Regions from separate parts of the Homo sapiens genome. Here region 2 is linked to region 1. Evidence: promoter capture Hi-C in human tissues and cell types (Jung and others, 2019). All regions are on one chromosome and are shown on one strand. The core of a region is centred on a gene start or on the middle of the fragment in contact, and the rest is flanking DNA. Distances in the headings are between cores, read along the strand shown. Region 1 holds the start of APOBEC3F (apolipoprotein B mRNA editing enzyme catalytic subunit 3F). Region 2 holds the start of ENTHD1 (ENTH domain containing 1).

Region 1 (3,531 bases), core at 563-3,062:
GAAGGTGGTCATCTGTTGTCAGCAGGGGAGGGGGTCACCAGGTGCATGGTGGGAGACCATGAGACCCATTGTCCAGAAGAAGAATGTCATAAGGTCGATTGATCAGTTAGGGTAGGGCAGGAACAAGTCCTAATGGTGGAATGTCTTAAGGTTGGTTAATCAGTTAAGGGAGAAACTGGCTGTTTCACTTCTTTTGTGTTTTTTTGGCTGCTCCAGACTTCTTGGCTGCTGCAGGCCATCTGGATGTATATGTGCAGTTCACAGGGGTCACAATGGCTTAGCTCCGGCTCAGAGGCCTGACACTGACCTCAGATGATCCACCTGCCTCGGCCTCCCAAAATGCTGGGATTACAGGCGTGAGCCACTGTGCCTGCCTGGGATCATATGTTACACGCATGTTTGTTCAATAAGCATGGAGTGCAGCCACCCACATGAATATTCATAGCTCCTCCTATAGCCTGTTGAATATGTATGTTTAGCCAACCCCTTCAGCATAAAGCTCCTGCCCCAACCCCTCCTGCTTCTAAATGTCTGTCTCTGGTGTTTCCCAGAGGCTGCTCTTCCCAGGCTGCGGGATGGCTACCTTGCTGCCTGTCACCCTTAACAAGAAATAAAATCTCCTTTCCAAATTTATACATTGTGGCCAGGCGCGGTGGCTCACACCTGTAATCCCGGCACTTTGGTACGCCAAGGCGGGCGGATCTCCTCAGATCGGGAGTTCGAGATCAGCTGACCAACATGGAGAAACCCTGTCTCTACTAAAAATACAAAAATTAGCCAGGCATAGTGGTGGGCGGCTGTAAGCCTGACCAACATGGAGAAACACTGTCTCTACTAAGAATACAAAAATTAGCCTAGGCGTAGGGGTGGGTGCCTGTAATCGCAGTTACATGGGAGGCTGAGGCAGGAGAATCTTTTGAACCTGGGAGGCAAAGGTTGCGGTGAGCTGAGATTACGCCACTGTACTCCAGCCTGGGTAACAGAGCAAGTCTCCGTCTCAAAACAAACAAACAAACAAAAAAACACAAAAAAACAAAAGCAAACAAAAAAACCAAATGCATCCCTTGTGTAATTTTTAGGTCACCGCGCCATGGGAACACGCTACCAGGGGAAGGGAGCTGTGAGACGCGCAGGGAGGCTCCAGACAGGCTGGCCTGGGACACCAGCCACTGCTCTTCCATGACATGGGGACAAGAGGAGGCGAGAGCTCAGCCCACCAGGGAGGAACTCCGGGCAGGAGATGGGGAAGAAGGAGAAGCAGGAAGGAAAGAGCTCAGTGTGGGGGCGCGCATGGCATCCCGGTGGGACATCTGAGGCCCACACCCACCTGCTGTCCCTCCCTCCCACGGTGGCCTCCGAGGGTGAAGGCCTGGGGAGAGGCAGACACCTGGCCCTTTACTCTCCCTCCCTGTCCCCATGGCCGCTGGGTGGGGGCCGTCTCTGGGATGATCCCCGAGGGCAGGATCCGGGAGTCCCTGCGGAGGCATCAGCCTGTCTGTCTTGATGGTGGAGAGGAGGCTCCAGCTGGGCGGGACCACCAGGGGAGGGGCTTGTGCTCTGCTGGCTCAGCCTGGTGTGGACCCACCTCGCGGGCGCTGGCTGCAATGACTTTCTCTTTCCCTTTGCAATTGCCTTGGGTCCTGCCGCACAGAGCGGCCTGTCTTTATCAGAGGTCCCTCTGCCAGGGGGAGGGCCCCAGAGAAAACCAGAAAGAGGGTGAGAGACTGAGGAAGATAAAGCGTCCCAGGGCCTCCTACACCAGCGCCTGAGCAGGAAGGGGGAGGGGCCATGACTACGAGGCCCTGGGAGGTCACTTTAGGGAGGGCTGTCCTGAAACCTGGAGCCTGGAGCAGAAAGTGAAACCCTGGTGCTCCAGACAAAGATCTTAGTCGGGACTAGCCGGCCAAGGATGAAGCCTCACTTCAGGTACCGCTGCCCGCTCTACCCGCTGGGCCCCTCTGCTGCCCCTTCCTGCCTGGTGGCTCTGCTGGGCGTCAGCCCTGGCCTCCCCCTGCCCCAGCCCCAGCCCTGGGCTCCCTCCCCTCTGGCTCCCCTGCCCCCGCCACTCCCAGCCAGGCTCTTTTTCCTGCTCTGTGGTTGCCCCACTGCTGCTTCTGAATAGGCCGCTTCCCCACCTGCCCCAGCCCAGGTGCCCTGCTGAGACTCTCCCCCGCCACCGAAAGTCATGGCAGGGCTGGTGCTCCCGGCCCTGGGAGGGTGCTCCCTCTGTGTTCTTTCCGCCATTCCTGAACTCTGGAACTGGGAGAATTGAACCAAAGGATGATTAGAGCAATGTGGAATTTTGTTCACAGTGCTTTGATGGATTTTCTGTAACATTTACTTTGCTTAAATAGCAAGTCTTAGGAGAGGGTGTGGGGAGGGAATGGTCTCTGAAGCACAAGATAAATCGTATCTTCCAAGGATGTCTCCACTGTGGGCAGAGGAGGATGCAGATGACCCCAAACACACGCTCCTCCTCCACTATCAGCATTCACTGTTTATAAATGACACGAGTAACATGGAATATAGTGGCCGGGTGCGGTGGCTCACACCTGTCATCCCAGCACTTTGGTAGGCTGAGGTGGGTGGATTGCCTGAGGTCGGGAGTTCGAGACCATCCTGATCAACATGGATAAACCCTGTCTCTACTAAAAATACAAAATTAGCCGGGTGTGGTGGCGGGCGCCTATAATCCAGCTACTCCACAGGCTGAGACAGGAGAATCGCTTGAACCCAGGAGGCGGAGGTTGCAGTGAGCCGAGATCGCCCCATCGCACTCCAGCCTGGGCAACAAGAGCCAAATTTCGTCTCAAAAGAAAAAAAAACAAAAACAAAAAACATGGAATATATGGGAAAAAAACTCAATGATCAGGAGAAATGCTATTATTTTAAAATTTAGTAAGAAGAGAGTCTGGTCCCCAATGGCTCCCTCCTGCAAGGCTGGTGACACAGAGACTGGACAGGGCTGGTCTGGTAAGAGGCCCCAGCCCCATCCGTCCCCAGCTCTGTGGCCTGGGCAGGTTACCCCATCTCTCTGCGCCTCTGGCACCTCCTCTGTAAGATGGGAATGGCCCGTGCGGGCCTAGGGCAGCCTCACATGAGCTCACATCCGCGCAGCACTTAGAAGAGTGGCCTGGGCCTCAGAATTCGGTTCTACCATGATTTAACAATAGTAATATACAGAGGTGAAATGTCAGAAGGAACTGGCTGAAAGGTTAAAATCTATTATTTTGGGGTGAATAGTTTTATTCTCTCTCTCTTTTTTTTTTTTTTTTTTGAGATGGAGTTTCGCTCTTGTAGCCCAGGCTGGAGTGCAGTGGCACGATCTCGGCTCACTACAACCTCCGCCTCCCAGGTTCAAGCGATTCTCCTGCCTCAGCCTCCACAGTGGCTGGGATTACAGGCACCCACTACCACGCTTGGCTAATTTTTATATTTTTAGTAGAGACTGGGTTTCACCATGTTGGTGAGACTGGTCTCAAACTCCTGACCTCAAGTGATGGGCCTACCTCGGCCTCCCAAAGTGCTGGG
Region 2 (3,531 bases), core at 338-2,837, 850 kb after region 1:
CTTTCTCTCCTAAATAATTCCCAGCAAAACAAATGATTACGTAGAAAAGGTCTTTTAGTGTTATTTTTAGATCTGCCCACTTTCACAATGCTGTTTCCTTCCCCCCATTTCATCTGAATTCTAACAGGAAATGATTTATCAGCTGGCATTAAACTATTGGTCCACGATCTTTTATCCCAATCCTTTGAGGCCAGATGATTTGTGGAAATTCTCTTTTGGGTGCGGTGGTAGGGGTGGAATTTTCAAGAGTAGTGCCATGTCTATACCATATATTACATGATACCCACAGTAAGGTGTGGAGCTGCTCTGAACAATTAAACACATTAACATGTCTGCAATAAAAACATGTAAATATTTGGAATAAAGACTACAAATGGCCTCAGGCCAAGTTTTACCACCAAATGAGTTGGAGGAAAAGTTGATTTCCAAAAGTTTTTGGATTTCAGGATTGAGAATAAGGAACAGAGGAGCTGAACTGACTTTATCCAAAGACTTGGGACAATAATGACAATAGCATCTAAGAGGCTGAGTGTCCAGAGCTATCTCTGAAAAGATGCATTTAAGGTGGAACTATGAGAAAAGAACAGCTCTTGTGTTTGTACAGGTTCTGCCTATAGACATGAGTTTGACTCGTAAGGAAATGAGCTCTGGCCAAGAATGCTACGGGAAAATGGTTATAGAGACTACCATGCCATTAGGAGGTGTTACTGTTTTGATGAAAAGAATACTGTCAGAGGCAGAGAATCTAATCTTTTCCAGCCCTAAGTGTGTGTTCATTAATTTATTCAACTAATAATCTTCCAGAGCTTACCATGTGGCAGGCTCCATTCTAGGAAATGGAGAAACAGGTGCACAAGACACAGTCCTCACACCCTGGAGTAAACAGCTACTCTTCATTGAACGCTCACAATGTGCTCACACCTGGGCCTTCACATGCCTCATCTCTCTCCTTTAATTAGGATTCAAAGCCATGATTTGAGGTCCTGCTTTGCCATTTCCTAACTAAGACTTAACAACTTCTCTAAGTCTCAGTTCCCTCATCCGCAACACAAAGAATAATCGCCAGACAGGGCCGTGGGGGAGGAAGAAACGAGATGCTTTGGAAAGAATTTTGAAAATGGCGGGTGGAGGCTGAGCAAGAATCAACTTTCTGTGGGCAGGGCCTTTCCTCGGCATCCTCGTCTTCATTCATACAACCCCCACTTCAGATGACGACTGTGTACCAGATGAGCCAGGTGCTGGGCGTTCGGCCACACAGAGAATCAGACCAGCAATTACCCTAGGAGAACCGGCAGTGGAGGGGAAGGCTGGACCTCAGGAAAGCCTCTAGAAGGAGAGAGGGACGTGATGGCGTCACGTCACGCCACAGGGATTTCACCTCCTGCGGATGGTAATGGCCTCGCCGCCCTCCCGCCCCCACCTGGACTCCGACGGTGCCGGCAAGAAACGGGAGGAGGGAAGGCAACCGATGTTTCCAGACCCGCCTTGAGCCCCACCACCACTCCCAAGCAGAGGCTGTTACCTGAGAGGAAAGTCGGCCGCTGCCCAACGACCAAACTTCCTCTCCCCAGGATATTCCACCTACTCCAGCCAGGCTCAAGGGCCCAGGCCGGTCCCCACTTCCGCTTCCTCACTTTCTGGCCTGGTGCAGTTCCTGTCAGGGCGTCAAGCAAGATGGTTGCAGATACCTGAGCTGGAGGGTACCAAGGGGAATGAAGGTAAGTGTCTTCGTTTCACAGGCTGCCGGGCTGTGACACTGCCCTAATCCTCCTTTCAAAGAATAAATTTTTTTTTTTTTTTGAGATCTGGGAAATAGTTTAATCAGACACTAGCATTTATTCTTAGCTGCTTTCTTAATTAAATAAAAATGAGTATAAATTAATTTACTAAATGTTCACAACGTAAAAACGGACATTAAAAAAAGAAAAAAAATGCCAAGGTAAGCTGATAATGTTTTTAAAAAGTAGACAATAAAATAATGTATGTAACTTAAAATTTGCCATGATAATTTATTCTTAAAATGGAAAATCAGTAAAATACTCAGACTTCTAGCATAATATCTCTTTTTTTTTATTTATTATTATTTAAGTTTTAAGGACATGGATGAAATTGGAAATCATCATTCTCAGTAAACTATCGCAAGAACAAAAAACCAAACACCGCATATTCTCACTCATAGGTGGGAATTGAACAATGAGAACACATGGACACAGGAAGGGGAACATCACACTCTGGGGACTGTTGTGGGGTGGGGGGAGGGGGGAGGGATAGCATTGGGAGATATACCTAATGCTAGATGACGAGTTAGTGGGTGCAGCGCACCAGCATGGCACATGAATACATTTTTAAAAGTGTGTTACTACTGTCATTTCAACTGACTAGAAATACCACCAGCACGTGATTGCCACCTCAAAGGACTGAGAATGTAATAGTAGTCTATGAAGAGCAGTGTGTGTGATGGACAATGATGGGGTAGCTCCAGTGACTGATGGCTTCAGGTGCCACTGACGGGTAATTGTTGATGTATTCAACTGATTTTCCGTGAGCACCCACTTTGTGCCAGACAGTAAGGACTCGGAGATAAAAAGCAGCCCTCTGCTGGATACGTTTACAGGCTAGTGGAGGTGACAGGCACCGTCAGAGAAGATTGTAACAAGATATGTATGGCATAGTAAGAGAGAAGAGATCATCTAATTCTGCCACTGAGTATTTAAGGGCAGGTTTCACAGAAGAGTTTACATCTGAATTGAATCTTAAAGGATGACAGGGAGTTCACTGGATAGACAAAGTAGAGGAGGACGTAAGAGGCAAAGGACACATCATGTGTAAAGGCATGAAAGCTGAGCCAGCCTATTATCTTGGAAAAACTACATGTACTGTAGTTACTACAACTGTCACAAAGGCTATTAGTGGAGCAGCAGAGGAAGGTTAAATAACAGAGGGAAGTTGGATCATGAAGAACCTTATCCATACTACAAGGTGATTTTATCCAGTAGGCATTGAAAAATGTAATCGAACCTGTGTTTTAATGGAATATTGACTAGGATGAGGGGAAAAGACAGAGGATAACAAAACACTTAGTAGACAAAAGCAACATTTGTTTCTATCTCCTACTACTTCAGTCATAATTATAATAATAATAGCCCACATTATTGATACTGACATGTAGATAGGTGAATCCAATATAAAATGATAGGAGGTATGAAAGAAGTTGGTGAGTTTGGAATATTATTTGACTGGCTATAATATAGAGTAATGGGGTGGGAGCCAGAGGGAAATCGAAAAGGTGACCTGGAAAACATTGTTCAGGGCCTTGAATGCTATGTTGAGGTATTTTGACTTTATAAAATAGTGGGGGACAAACTACAAGTATTTTATACATTGAGGTATAGTTTATGAAGTTTTTTTATATGTATAGCTTATGTAAATCTCAAAGGAATGCTGAGAAGTAGGCGTTATTATCCCATTGTACAGGTGAGAAAGCTGAGTTTGTGGAATATGCATACATTCTACATTATTGAGCACCTGCTA

What was found. Contacts are between HindIII fragments. The study calls those that stand out against the background at their distance.
Region 2: the fragment with the promoter of ENTHD1 here is called in contact with the fragment with the promoter of APOBEC3F in region 1 in 1 of the 25 tissues and cell types used here (dorsolateral prefrontal cortex).

Annotation. Positions count from the first base shown.
Region 1 is chr22:39,039,052-39,042,582 of GRCh38, forward strand. It overlaps APOBEC3F (apolipoprotein B mRNA editing enzyme catalytic subunit 3F), which reads left to right and starts at 1,813. Exons shown (of 7, transcript NM_145298.6): 1 at 1,813-1,926. The coding sequence starts at 1,910. RefSeq lists enhancers at 1,623-1,682, 2,735-3,512. The HindIII fragment of the contact is 19,854 bases long and covers 1-3,531 here.
Region 2 is chr22:39,892,173-39,895,703 of GRCh38, forward strand. It overlaps ENTHD1 (ENTH domain containing 1), which reads right to left and starts at 1,588. Exons shown (of 7, transcript NM_152512.4): 1 at 1,523-1,588. It also overlaps a transcript of GRAP2 not described here. The HindIII fragment of the contact is 22,421 bases long and covers 1-3,531 here.